2 separate regions of the Homo sapiens genome follow, and region 2 is linked to region 1. The links are contacts of gene promoters, found by promoter capture Hi-C in blood cells and fetal thymus (Javierre and others, 2016). All regions are on one chromosome and are shown on one strand. Each heading gives the region's core, a stretch centred on a gene start or on the middle of the fragment in contact. The rest is flanking DNA. Distances are from core to core; before and after follow the strand shown. Region 1 holds the start of TLE6 (TLE family member 6, subcortical maternal complex member). Region 2 overlaps CELF5 (CUGBP Elav-like family member 5).

Region 1 (7,324 bases), core at 2,582-5,081:
CATCCTGGCCAACATGGTGAAACTCCATCTCTACTAAAAATACAACATTAGCTGGAGGTGGTGTGGTGGCGGGCGCCTGTCATCCAAGCTACTCAGGAGGCTGAGGTAGAAGAATCGCTTGAACCCAGGAGGCAAAGGTTGCAGTGAGCCAAGATCGTGCCACTGCACTCCAGCCTGGGCGACAGAGCAAGACTCTGTCACAAAAAAATAATAATAATAGCCAGGCGTGGTGGCTCACACCTGTAATCCCAGCACTTTGGGAGACCAAGGCAGGTGGATCACAAGATCAGGAGTTTGAGACCGATCCGGCCAATATGGTGAAACTCCATCTCTATTAAAAATACAAAAATTAGGCGGGTGTGGTGGCGGGCGCCTGTAGTCCCAGCTACTTGGGAGGCTGAGGCAGGAGAATCGCTTGAACCTGGGAGGTGGAGGATGCAGTGAGACAAGATCGCGCCACTGCACTCCAGCCTGAGGGACAGAGAGAGACTCTGTCTCAAAAAAATAAGTAATAAAAATTAAAAAATAATAATTATGGGACAGTGGAGGGTTCGTGGGTGGGAAGCTTTTCTGCAGGTCTTTCATGACGGCCCCTCCCTTTGTTCTCCATGGACCAGCTGCAAAACCCAAGTCACGTGTGCACATCACCACCTCTGGGGGCTACTTGTCCCAGCATTGAAACCCTCAGTTCCCCGCAGCGAGAGAGCACAGAACAGAAAACAGGGAAGAGTTTCTCTGGCTGGGTTTGGATCTGAAGTCAGCAGACCTATCGGGCATTTGTGTCACATGGGGAGGTCAGAGGATGGGAGGCGTCTCTGTAGGAGAATCCTGACAGCATTCTCTGCATTTAGAACATGCAGGGCTTAGAGCTATCGTGGGAGGCTCCCGCCACAGGAGCCACTGAGATTACAAGATTAGCTGCAATCCAAACCACATTCGGAAAAAAATAAAATAAGAAAGGGAGATACAGGCCCGGTGGCGGCACAGTGGCTCATGCCTGTAATCCATAGTACTTTGGGAGGTGGAGGTGGGAGGATCACTTGGGGTCAGGAGTTCAAGACCAGCCGGGGCAATGTACTGAGACTCCCCTCCCCCTCGCCCTGTGTTTAAAAAAAAAAAGAGGAAATAAAGGGAAATATAGGGAAGGGAAGGGAGGGTTGGGAGGTCTCTTCAATGAGATCCTTCCTTCCTTCCTTCCTTCCCTCCCTCCCTCCCTTCTTTTTTTTTTTTTGAGATGGAGTTTCACTCTTGTTGCCCAGGCTAGAGTGCAATGGCACGATCCTGGCTGACTGCAACCTCCACCTCCCGGGTTCAAGCGATTCTCCTGCATCAGCCTCCCAAGTAGCTGGGATTACAGGCGTCTGCCACCACACTCAGCTGACCTTTGTATTTTTAGTAGAGATGGGGTTTTGCCATGTTGGCCAGGCTGGTCATGAACTCTTTTCTTCTTTTGAGGCAGAGTACTCTGTCGCCCAGGGTGGAGTGCAATGGCGACATCTTGGCTCATTGCAACCTCTGCCTCCCAGGTTCAAGTAGCTGGGATTACAGATGTGCATCACCGTGCCCGGCTGATTTTTGTATTTTTAGTAGAGGTAGGGTTTCAGCATGTTGGCCAGGCTGGTCTGGAACTCCTGACCTCAAGTGATCTCCTGCTTCGGCCTCTCAAAGTGCTGGAATTACAGGCGTGAGCCACCACGCCTGGCCTGATGTGGTGATTTTTTTTTTTTTTTTCTGAGACAGAGTCTTGCTGTGTCACCCTGGCTGAAGTGCAGTGGCACAATCTCGACTCACTGCAACCTCCGCCTCCCAGGTTCAAGTGATTCTTCTGCCTAAGCCTCCAGAGTAGCTGGGACTACAGGTGCCTATCACCATGCCTGGCTAATTTTTGTATTTTAGTAGAGCTGGGGTTTTCTTTTTTTTTTTTTTTTTTTGAGACAGAGTCTTGTTCTGTCGCCCAGTCTGGAGTGCAGTGGCGCAATCTTGGCTCACTGCAAGCTCCGCCTCCCGGGTTCACGCCATTCTCCCGCCTCAGCCTCCTCAGTAGCTGGGATTACAGGCACCCACCGCCACGCCCGGCTAATTTTTTTGTATTTTTTATTAGAGATGGGGTTTCACCGTGTTAGCCAGGATGGTCTCGATCTCCTGACCTCGTGATCCACCCGCCTCGGCCTCCCAAAGTTCTGGGATTACAGGTGTGACCCGGCCAAGCTGGGGTTTCACCATGTTGGCCAGGCTGGTCTCGAACCCCTGACCTCAGATGATCCACCCACCTCTGCCTCCCAAAGTGCTGGGATTACAGGCGTGCACCACAGCACCTGGCCCAACGTGGTGATTTCTAAGTAGGGAGCTGAGGGAGTAAGGAGCCAGCCGGTGGCTGTCTGAGAGAGACTGTCCCTGGCAGAGTGAACTGCTAATGCCAGTACCAGGTCCTGGGCCAAACAGAAAGAAACGGGCTCTCACTCCAGAACTGCAGCTTGACCACTATATATATAATATATATACTTTATATATATTATAGCTATATATTTTTTTGAGATGGAGTCTTGCTCTGTTGCTCAGACTGGAGTGCAGTGGCACGATCATAGCTCACTCCAGACTCAACCTCCTGGGCTTACGCCATCCTCCTGCCTCAGCCTCCCCAGTAGCTGAGACTACAGGTGCATGACCACCACACTTGGCTAATTTTTAAATTTTTTGTAGAGACGCGGTGTCACTGTGTTGCCCAGGCTGGTCTCCAACTCCTGGCCTCAAGCAATCCTCCCACCTCAGCCTTCCAAAATGCTGGGATCACAGGTGTGAGCCATGGTGACTTGGCTTCATATTTTGAATAGGCCAAAACAAAACTCCGAAATCCCCTTACTCCTATCCCCACGACCCCACACAGCAGGTTTCTCTCGCTCTGCAGCAACCCACTTACCTCTCGGAAATCATCCCAGGCCTGTTCGGAGTGCACGCAGCCCCGTTAGCCTCCCTGGCTGCTCCTGTAACCAGCCCAGCTCTGCCTGAGAGGTTCCGCTATTCCCTCCGTCTGGAATACCCACCACTCTCTCCCACCCCGCGCTTGCATCCGGCAATACTGTATCAGCCTCAGGGCCTCTGCTGTCCCGCTTTCTGCTCTCAGAGCCTTTGTCACTGGGCTGGAAGAGCAGTTGGGAAAATTCGGTGATAAATGCATAGCCCGGGGCTGGGACCATCAAGGGGACCCAGTAAGTTGGCTCCAGAAAGAGGACTTGAAGCTTCGTTTGCATTGCACGTTATTTAATATTGAGGAAAATGTAATTAGCCCGTATCTAAGAATTGGGGTGACAGCGCTAAAGATTGAACCCACCCACCTCCCACTCCTCACCTCCAGCCATAAGCCACTTCCGGACAAGGCTAAAAATGCGTAAAACAATGCAACTACTCGCCACCTATCCCTGCCCAAGTTCCAGCCTCTGAGCCTCAAGCCCCACGCCCTCCTAAATATCCCCGCCCCCGCTGGGACCCCAAATTGCCTATAGCTCTGCAAGTCCGCCCTTCCCGGCAGCGGGACCGAAAGGGTAAAGCAGAGGCTCCCGGCTCGCTGAGTGACAGCATGGCCGGCGGCCGGGGAGAGCCGACCAATCAGGGAGGGCGTACGCGACCCACGTGCGTAAACGGCCTCGCTATTGGCCGGCGCCGCCAGAGGCCTGCCCCCCCCGGAGCCCGAACCCACGTGCAGCTACTGCGCCTTCATTGATCTGCTTCGCGGTCCAGGTGGCGGCTGGGTGGGGCCTGGGCGGGACGGGGCGGGGACAAGGCGGGACGAGGCGGGGCCCGATGGGTCAAATGGCCCCCGGTGGGGGAAGGAGGAGTTTCCTCTTGGCCTGAACTTGGCTGACCTCCGCAGCTTCCGCCCGGTGAGGGACGTGAGTTGCCAGGCGTGTTCTAGGGGGCTGGGGGGACTCCAGGATTCCCGGCCGGGGAAGGGGCTGCAGGGGCGTGGAGGGGCAGGACTGAGGCAAGGAAGAAGCTGGGTGCTGCAGCAGGGATGGAGGTGGAGAGAGGTCGTTTCTTCTGTCTGATGAATTCCGCCTAATGCACCTGGCTAACTCCTAGTCATCCTTCAAAACCCCTTTCTAGTGATCTCCCTGCGCTTTAGGAAATTGTCTCAAAACTAAGGTTGAGCTTTGGCGACCTTCCCTGGGCTCCCCCGTCCCTGACTGCCCCCAGCAGGGAGTGTATGTGCACTATCCACCCCAGCCTCCTAGGGTGAGGCCTGGGAGGCAAGGCTCAGTTCTTTCTGGGTCCCCGCCCCCATGAATCTGGGCAGCTGGAGGCATTGATAAGTGAGGACAGGACCTAGGGAACGCATGGGAGAACCGCAGGATTGGGTCCCTGGAGACTTACCAAACTGGGAGGTGCGGGTGGGGTAACGGGTGCCTTGCTTCCCTGGCACTGCCTTATTTTCTGTCCCTCAAGACCTGCCGTCTCCTTGTTGTTTTAGACTCTGGCTAAAGTCTTGGAGGCTACTGCCTTGAAGATGACCTCTAGGGACCAGCCCAGACCCAAGGGCCCCCCGAAAAGCACTTCGGTGAGGAGGGCATGTGGTGGGATCAGCCCTCAAGGGAAACCCGGGCCCAATGTGGTTCTGCCCCTTTTCCACCTGTGACCTGGGCTGGCCCCGCCCAGGCCTCGCAGCTGAAGACAATACTGGTCGCTGCTACACTCAAGACAGGTGCCAAGGAGCCGTGTTTTTTAAAAAAAATTAAGTGTAGGCTGGACACTGTGGCTCACAACTGTAATCTCAACATTTTTGGAGGCCGAGGCAGGAGGACCACTTGAGCCCAGGAGTTTGAAACCAGCCTGGACAACGTAGTGAGACCCTGTCTCTGTAAAAAATAAAACTAGAAGAATCAGCTGGGCCTAGTGACGTGGGCCTGTAGTTGCAGCTACTTGGGAGGCTGAGGCAGAGGGTTGGCTTGAGCCCAAGGAGTTTGAGGCTGCAGTGAACTATGATGGTGCCACTGCACTCCATCCTTGGTGACAGTGAGATCCCATCTAAAAAAAAATGTAGCATCTAATCACATATGTGATAAAAACACAGGAACACATCATGTATTTGGTTGATGTTTTACAAGCAATCCCCGCTCCCTGCACTTTGCGTCCCAGAGATGACCATTTGTAAATTTAGGCTCTCAGGGCTGAGCAGACGTTTTTTTTTGTAAAGGAGTCAGATGAGGGATATTTTGTTTTGAGACTTTATGATTTTATTATGTTTGAGACGGAGTCTCACACTCACCTCGGCTGGAATGCAATGGCGCAATCTCAGCTCACTGCAACCTCTGCCTCCCGGGTTCAAGTGATTCTCCTGCCTCGCCTCCCGAGTAGCTGGGACTACAAGCACCTGCCACCATGACCACCAAATTTTTCTTGTATTTTTAGTAGAGACTGGGTTTCACCATGTTGGCCAGGCTGGTCTCGAGCTCCTGACCTCGTGATCTGCCTGCCTCAGCCTCCCAAAGTGCTGGGGTTATAGGTGTGAGCCACCACACTTGGCCAAGAGACTTTATTTTATTGAGTCTTGCTCTTGTTGCCCAGGCTGGAGTGCAGTGGCGCGATCTCGGCTCACTGCAACCTCCACCTCCCAGGTTCAAGTGATTCTCCTGCCTCAGCCTCCCGAGTAGCTGGGATTACAGGTGCGCGCCACCACGCCCGGCTAATTTTTGTATTTTCAGTAGAGACGGGGTTTTGCTGAGTTGCCCAGGGTTGTCTCAAACTCCTGACCTCAGGTGTTCTGCTCACCTCGGCCTCCCAAAGTGCTGGGATTACAGGCATGAGCCACCTTGCCCGGACTTTTATTTTTAAAAATATTTTGTGCTTCTATTTTCATCACAAGAATGTGGTGAACATTTTAGACTTTAGGCCAAAGTGCAAAATGGAAGATGCTCTTTACTGAAATAAGAGAGGCCGGGCGCGGTGGTTCATGCCTGTCATTCCAGCACTTTAGGAGGCCGAGGCGGGTAGATCATGAGGTCAGGAGGTTGAGACCAGCCTGGCCAAGATGGTGAAACCCCATCTCTACTAAAAATACAAAAATAAGCCAGGTGTGTTGCCGGGGGCGGGCGGGGGAGGGGGGCGCGGGCGCATGTAATCCCAGCTACTCGGGAGGCTGAGGCAGGAGAATCGCTTGAACCCGGGAGGCAGAGTTTGCAGTGAGCTGAGATTGTGCCACTGCACTCCAGCCTGGGCGACAGAGCAAGACTCGGTTTCCAAAAAAAAAAAAAAAAGCAAAAACCACAATTACTTTTGCACCAACCTAATGCCTATGCCATGTTGAGGTGGAGACCGGGGGTCTTGGGTGTTGGAGCATTGTAAGTTTTATGTAACCTTGCTTTGACCTTTCCAGCCTTGTCCTGGGATCTCGAACTCTGAGAGCTCTCCGACGCTGAATTATCAGGGCATTCTAAATCGGCTCAAGCAGTTCCCCAGGTGAGAGCAATTCCAGGGGCCGGAGGTCTCACGCTGGGAAGGAGCCCCACCTGGCCTCTCTCCCGGGGGTCCTAGTGAGTGGTCTAGAGGCTGCTGGCCCAAGAGCCAGGCTCAGGAACAGGAAGCCATGCAGATACCCAGCATGGAGAACCCGGCAATACCCATCCCAGCTTTTGATTAAACAAAATTACCAACAAATATTAAAATTTTGATTTTCCTGTTCGACATGGATTTGTTGGCATTCAATTTTATTGTTGAAAAATACTGCAACGGCTGGGTATGGTGGCTCGCACCTGTAATCCCAGCACTTTGGGAGGCGGAGGCGGGCGGATTGCTTGAGGTCAGGAGATCAAGATCAGCCTGGCCAACATGGTGAAACCGCGTCTCTACAAAAAATACAAAAATCAGCCAGGCTTGGTGGTGGGTGCCTGTAATCCCAACTACTTGGGAAACTGAGGCAGGAGAATCTCTTGAACCCAGGAGGCGGAGGGTTGCAGTGAGCCAGGATCACACCATTACACTCAAGCCTAAGGCTACAGAGTGAGACTCGGTCTTTAAAAAAAAAAAAAAAAAAAAGTACTGCATGGGCTGGGTGCAGTGGCTTGCACTTGTAATCCCAGCACTTTGGGAGGCAGAGGCAGGAAGATCGCTTGAGCCCGGAGTTCAATACCAGCCTTGGCAACATAGCGAGATGCCATCTCTTAAAAAATAAAAAAAATCTAGCTGAGTGTGGTGGTGCACACCTGTAGTCCCAGCTACTCAGGAGACTGAGGCAGGAGGATCATCTGAGCCCAGGAATTGGAGGCTGCAGTGAGCCATGATTGTACCACTGCACCCTAGCCCGGGCAACAGGGTGAGATTCTGTTTAAAAAAA
Region 2 (7,324 bases), core at 2,669-5,168, 260 kb after region 1:
TTGTAATCTAGTCACTCCCAGAACTCCAAGTTCCTTTTTCCTCCTTTCCTTTTTTTTTTCCTGTGCAAATGAAGACCTCTAACATACTATATATATCGCTTTTAATTTTATTTGCTTTTTCTCCTTCCTAATAGACTGTAAGCCTCATTAGCACAGAGATTTTCACCTTTGTGTGTACTGCTGTGTCACCAGTGCCTAAAAGAGTGCTTTGAACATCACGCGAGGATAGATGGGTGGGTGGGTGGATGGATGGATGGATGAATAGGTGGGTGGGTGGATGGGTGGATGAGTGGATGGGTGGATGGATGTGTGGATGGGTGGGTGGATGGATGAATGAATGGATGGGTGGATGAATAGGTGGGTGGGTGGATGGGTGGATGAGTGGATGGATGGATGGATGGATGGATGGATGGATGTGTGGATGGGTGGATGGATGGATGGATGGATGGATGTGTGGATGGGTGGATGGATGGATGGATGGATGGATGGATGTGTGGATGGGTGGATAGATGGATGGATGGATGAATGGATGGATGGATGGATGGATGGATGTGTGGATGGATGGATGGATGGATGAATGAATGGATGGATGGATGAATAGGTGGGAGGATGGTTGATTGGATGATGGACAAGTGGATGGGTGGACAGTTGGGTGGGTGTATGGATGGGGAAATTTCTGGTGTAGTGATGGGGACTGAAGCCGTAGGAGTCAAGATGCCTGGGCGAGAGATCTGGGGTCTAGAATGAGCCTCAAGGAACCCCCATATGTCAGGCTGTGGAGAGGAGCAGGCAGCATGGAGGCTGAGGAGCCACAGCCAGCAGGGCTGGACCTCATTTGGAGGCAGCATGGTTGACATAGGGTCCAGGAGGAGGACACCAGGGCCTCAGCACAGGAATCAAGGCATTTATGCGTGCATTGAGGGACAGTAAAAAGGGGGCAGAGAGCCCGTCTGTCTCGGTTTTCCTAGTGAAGTTGGGGAGAACTTTGGGCTAGGAAGGTGGAGGAGGAAGTGGAGAGGATGAGCAGCAAAGCTGAGTAGGTGGAGAAGGGAGGGTCCTGTGTCCTTTTCAGTGCATGTGTGGCCTCGTGGTTCCCATTTGGTGGATGAGACTGTGAAGGCTCAGAGAGGTTAAGTGGCTGGCCCAAGAGCACACAGCAGAAAGGTACTGAGCTGGCTTTGATCCTTATCTCCAATCACTAGATTACAGAACTGAGTTAAAGACTAAGAACTTGGAGACCCCTGCCATGCAGGGGGTTCGGGATCAAAGGGGTTGAGATGGGAGGGGGGTTCCTGGCTGGGGAGAGAAGAAGAGGATGAACAGCAATGTATTCCCTGTCTCTGTTTCCCCACCACCATCGGTGCATCGTAGGTGCTCAGGAATATTGAATGACTCTGAGCTAGGCATGGCAGGGAGGGGAAGGACAAAAATGAATCTAGGCCAGGCGCGATGGCTCACGCCTACAATCCCAGCACTTTGGGAGGCCGAGGTGGGTGATCACCTGAGGCCAGGAGTTTGAGACCAGCCTGGCCAACATGGTGAAACCCCATCTCTACTAAAAATACAAAAAACTAGCTGGGTGTGGTGGCGGGCCTGCACCTGTAATACCAGCTACTTGGGAGGCCGAAGTGGAAGAATCGCTTGAACCCGGGAGGCGGAGATTGCAGTGAGCTGAGATCGCGCCACTGCACTCCAGCCTGGACGACAGAGCAAGACTCCATCTCAAAAAAAAAAAAAAAAGTAAAGTAATAAAGAATGGCTACTCCGGCCAGGCGTGGTGGCTCACGCCTGTAATCCCAGCACTTTGGGAGGCCGAGACGGGTGGATCACGAGGTCAGGAGATCGAGACCATCCTGGCTAACACGGTGAAACCCCATCTCTACTAAAAATACAAAAAATTAGCCGGGCATGGTGGCAGGAACCTGTAGTCCCAGCTACTCGGGAGGCTGAGGCAGGAGAATGGCGTGAACCTGGGAGGTGGAGCTTGCAGTGAGCCGAGATCACGCCACTGCACTCCAGCCTGAGTGACAGAGCACGACTCCGTCTCAAAAAAAAAAAAAAAAAAAAAAAAAGGAAAGTAATAAAGAATAGCTACTGCATAGAGCAGCCGCCTGGGCTGCTTGTTGGCAGTTTTTATGGTTACTCCTTGACCATATGCTAAACAAGAGGTGGATTATTCATGAGTTTCCCGGGAAAGGGGTGGGCAGTTCCTGGAGCTGAAGGGTCCTCCACTTTTAGGATAATTTGCAGACGTTGCCATGGCGTTTGTAAACTGTCGTGGCGCGGGTGGGAGTGTCTCTTAGCATGCTAATGCATTATAATTAGCATGTAATGAGCAGTGAGGATGACCAGAGGTCACTTTCACCCCCATCTTGGTTTGAGTGGGTTTTGGCAGCTTATTTACCACATCCTGTTTTATAAGCAGGGTCTTTATGACCTGTATCTTTTGATACCGTTCTGCCAACCTCCTATCTCATCTCGTGATTAAGAATATCTAACTTGAGGCCGGACGCGGTGGCTCACGCCTGTAATCCCAGCACTTTGGGAGGCCGAGGCGGGTGGATCACGAGGTCAGGAGATCGAGACCATCCTGGCTAATACAGTGAAACCCCGTCTCTACTAAAAAATACAAAAATTAGCCGGGCCTGGTGGCGGGCGCCTATAGTCCCAGCTACTCGGGAGGCTGAGGCAGGAGAATGGCGTGAACCCAGGAGGCGGAGCTTGCAGTGAGCCGAGATCACGCCACTGCACTCCAGCCTGGGTGAAAGAGAGAGGCTCTGTCTCAAAAAAAAGAGAATATCTAACTTGGCCGGGCGCCATGGGTCACGCCTGTAATCCCAGCACTTTGGGAGGCCAAGGCAGATGGATCATTTGAGGTCAGGAGTTCAAGACCCAGCCTGGCCAACATGGCGAAACCCCCTCTCTACTAAAAATAAAAAATTAGCTGGGCAGTAGTGGCAAGAGTTGTAATCCCAGTTACCAAGCTCCTATTCAAGATGGAGTTGCTCTGGTTCAAACGCTTCTGACAGTACTTCCCTCTGATATCCCCCAAACCCTGAGATCCCGCAGGGCCCAAACCAGGGTTCATGTCTTTCTTCCAAAGTGCACCTCCTCCTGGGTTCCTACCTGGGTTTGTTGTCCCAGGGCTTTTGTAACAAATGACCACAAACTGGGGGGCTTGGAACAGCCTCTCCCAGTCCTGGAGGCCAGAAATCAGCTATCAAGGTGTGGGTAGGGCCTCACTTTCTCCAAGGGGAGGGTCCTTCCTGCCTCTTCAGCTTCTGGGGACTCCGGGTGTCCTTGGCTGATGGATGCATCACTGTGGTCTCTGCTCCATCATCTGTGCGTCTGCGTCTCCTCTCCTCTGTGTTATAAGGACACTTGAGGCCGGGTGTGGTGGCTCACGCCTGTAATCCCAGCACTTTGGGAGACCGAGGCAGGTGGTTCACTTGAGGTCAGGAGTTCGAGACCAACCTGGCCAACATGACGAAACCCTGTCTCTACTAAAAATACAAAATTAGCAGGGTGTGGCGGCGGGTGCCTGTAATCCCAGTACTCAGGAGGCTGAAGCAGAATTGCTTGAACACAGTAGGTGGAGGTTGCAGTGAGCCAAGATCACACCATTGCACTCTAGCCTGGGCAACAAAGCGAGACTCCATCTCAAAATAAAAATAAAAAATAAAAATTAAGGATGCTTGTCCTTGTGTTTGGGGCCTGCCTTCATCTAGCTTGACTTCATCCCAAATTCCTTATTGAAATCTGCAAAGTCTCTTTTTCCAAATCAGGTCACATTTCAGGTTCCAGAGTGGCTATATCTTTTTTAAAATTTTATAAAATTAATTTTAATTTTTTTGAGACAGGGTCTCACTTTGTCACCCAGACTGGAGTGCAGTGGTATGATCATAGCTTGCTGCAGCCTCGACCTCCCAGGCTCAAGGGATCCTCCCGCCTCAGCCCGTTTAGTAGCTGGAACTACAGGTGTGAACCACCACACCCAGCTGTTTGTTTTTTTTTTATTAGAGACAAAGTCTCACTACATTGCCCAGGCTGGTGCAAACTCCTGAGCTCAAGCAATCCTCCCGCCTCAGCCTCCCAAGTAGCTGGGACTGCAAGTGTGTGCCACCATGCCCGGCTAATTGTTTTTAATTTTTACTGGAGATGGGGTCTCACTGTGTTGCCCAGGCTCGTCTCAAACTCCTGGGCTCAAGCCATCCTCCCACTTCAGCCTCCCGAGTACCTGGGACTACAGATGTGAGCCATCATGCCCGGCTAACTTTTTTTTTTTTTCAGTAGAGTTGGGGTCTCACTATGTTGCCCAGGCTCAGGATGGATGTAGCTCTTTTTCAGGGAGCCACCATTCAACCCATTACATCCTCACACCCTACCATCCAAGTGCATCCCAGCCATCCTTGCCTCCTCCCTCCCCTCCCCTCGTCCCCCACCAAAGCCCTACCTTAGATTTTCCTGTCTTTGTCCCCATGGCCCTCTGGGGTAGTCTTCACCTTCTCCCATACTGACCTTGACTCTGCCCCCTCACTGGCCTCCAGTCTTCTGTCCTGCACTCCAGTCCCTTCTTCGTGCTGGCCCCAGGAGGCTCTTTCCCGCACACACCTCTGACTATGCCCAACCCCTGCTCAAACACCTTCCATGGCTCCCCACTGCCCTTGACATCAGTCCAGCAGTTCTTTGCCTGTTTCACCCTCATCTGTCCCCTCCAATGGCATCCCCCATCTCCTGCAACACACTTTTTTTTTTTTTTTTGAGGCAAGAGTTTTGCTCTGTTGCTCAGGCTGGAGCGCAGTGGCGAGATCTCGGCTCACTGCAAACTTTACCTCCCAAGTTCAAGTGATTCTCCTGCCTCAGCCTCCTGAGTAGCTGAGTAGCTGGAATTATAGGTGCACGCCACCACACCTAGCCAATTTTTGTATTTTTAGTAGAGACGGGGTTTCATCATGTTGGCCAGACTGGTCTTGAACTCCTTACCTCAAATGATCCGCCTGCCTCTGCCTCCCAAAGTGCTGGTATTACAGGCATGAGCCACTGCACCTGGCCCTTCTTTTTCTTTCTTTCTTTTTTTTTGAGATGGGGTCTCACTCTGTCATCCAGGCTGGAATGCAGTGGCATAATCTCAACTCACTGCAACCTCTGCCTCCCGGGTTCAAGAGTCATTCTTGTGCCTCAGCCTCCTACGTAGCTGGGACTACAAGCATGAACCACCACACCCAGCTAGTTTTTGTATTTTTAGTAGAGAGGGGGTTTCACCGTGTTGGCCAGGCTGGTCTTGAACTCCTGACCTTAGGTGAGCCACCTGCCTCGGCCTCCCAGAGTGCTGGGATTACAGACGTGAGCCACTGCGCCCGGCCCTACCACACACTTCTGAAAGCCTATGTTCCACACACCAGGCAGGCTCTTGTTCTATGGCCCCAGCTCCAAGAATCATCCTTCAGGAAGCCGTCTCCAAGCAGAACCAGGTTGCCTTCAGAGCGTCCCCAGCCCTGCCTTTCTCTTGGCCCGGGCTGACCACACAGGGTGTGGAGGGGACAGGAGTGTCAGGCTCTGCCTCCTCCTAGCAGGAGGATCACAGAGAATCACTTCCCAAAAAAGAGCATTTTCCTGGGCTGGAGACTGGAGTGTCCTTTTGGGCTGAGGTCCCCAGCTGCCCGGGCTGGAGAAACTTATCCATTGAGCAGATCTCATGTTCCCCAAGGATCCCCCACCTTGATCCCCAATGTACCCTTGGTACCCTTGGGTCTCGAGAGATTTGTGTGCAGTGCATTGTCTATGAACTTGAAGATCAGTTCTTTTTTTTTTTTTTTGAGGCGGAGTCTTGCTCTGTCACCAGGCTGGAGCGCAGTGGCACCATCTTGGCTCACTGCACCCACCAACTCCCTGGTTCAAGCAGTTCTTCTGCCTCAGGCTCCCAAGTAGCTGGGATTACAGGCACGAACCACCACGCACAAGCCACCGCGCCCAGCTAATTTTTTTTTTTTGTATTTTTACTAGAGATGGGGTTTCACCATGTTGGCCAGCATAGTCTCTATCTCCTGACCTTGTGATCCACCCGCCTCTGCCTCCCAAAGTGCTGGGATTACAGGTGTGAGCCACCGCGCCCGGCCTAAAGATCAGTTCTTGTCCAGGCTTTGAAAATAGGGTGGGTGCAGATTGCCAATCACTGAGCATTCTGAACCATTGATCCCAGGTGGGACTTCCCTGTCTACCCCCTCCAGAACCCCAAGGCTCTCCAGGTGTGCAGCAAGGCTGCACACCTGCCTCTGGTGCCCTTGCCATCTGGGGCAGGTGTGTGGGGTGGGAGTGGCTGGGGCTGGGACACGGTGAGAGGCTCACCTGGCGTGGGTGGGGGATAAGCTGTGGCTCAGGCTGAGGCTTCCTTCAGGGGATCCCTCTGGGTCTAGGATGCAACCAACCAGAGCTCTCACAGTTGAAATGGGATCCACAGGGCCCTCAGCATTTGATCCAGCCCCGTGTTTCTGACAAAGGTGGCACTAGTTTGTTGTTGTTGTGTGTTTGTTTGAGACAGAGTCTCCCTCTTGCCCAGGCTGGAGTGCAGTGGCGCGACCTCGGCTCACTGCAACCTTATCTCCCGGGTTCGAGCAATTCTCCTGCCTCAACCTCCCGTGTAGCTGGGACCAGAGGCGCGCGCCGCCACGCCCAGCTAATTTTTGTGTTTTTAGTAGAGATGGGGTTTCACCGTGTTGGGCAGGCTGGTCTCAAACTCCTGACCTCAGGTTATCCACCTGCCTTGGCCTCGCAAAATGCTAGGATTACAGGCATGAACCACCATGCCCGGCCCAAGGTGGCACTATTTTAAGGTTATTTCTAGGGAAGCAGGTACGGCAAGAGGCTGTGTTCTTCCTCATATTCCTTGGGGGAGAATTTTGGAAAAGATGCGAAAGCCAGGCAGTGGATCTCAGCTGTTAGTGCATGGTCTGCAGAGCTAGACTACCTAGATTTAAGCCCTCGACATTTGGCCGGGCACGATGGCTCGCACCTGTAATCCCAGTGCTTTGGGAGGCTGAGGCGGGCAGATTACTTGAGGTCAGGAGTTCAAGACTAGCCCGGCCAACATGGTGAGACCCCGTCTCTACTAAAAAATACAAAAAATTGGCTGGGTGCAGTGACTCATGCCTGTAATCCCAGTACTTTGGGAGGCTGAGGTGGGCGGATCACTTGAGGTCAGCAGTTCAAGACCAGCCTGGCCAACATGGTGAAACCCTGTCTCTACTAAAAATACAAAAAAATGGCCGGGCGCAGTGACTCACACCTGCAATCCCAGCACTTTGGGAGGCTGAGGTGGGTGGATCAT

The links. Contacts are between HindIII fragments. The CHiCAGO score rates a contact against its expected background, and 5 or more counts as called.
Region 2: a contact is called between a fragment that was not itself captured here and the fragment with the promoter of TLE6 in region 1, in 1 of 17 cell types (M2 macrophages). The highest score is 6.5, in M2 macrophages.

What each region holds. Positions count from the first base shown.
Region 1 is chr19:2,973,733-2,981,056 of GRCh38, forward strand. TLE6 (TLE family member 6, subcortical maternal complex member) reads left to right here and starts at 3,832. Exons shown (of 17, transcript NM_001143986.2): 1 at 3,832-3,878; 2 at 4,466-4,552; 3 at 6,368-6,450. The coding sequence starts at 4,502. RefSeq lists a silencer at 3,554-3,863. The HindIII fragment of the contact is 27,309 bases long and covers 3,235-7,324 here.
Region 2 is chr19:3,235,265-3,242,588 of GRCh38, forward strand. All of the region lies in intron 1 of CELF5 (CUGBP Elav-like family member 5), which reads left to right. Among named protein-coding and RNA genes, the nearest start is that of CELF5, 14 kb to the left of the region's middle. The HindIII fragment of the contact is 7,916 bases long and covers 1-7,324 here.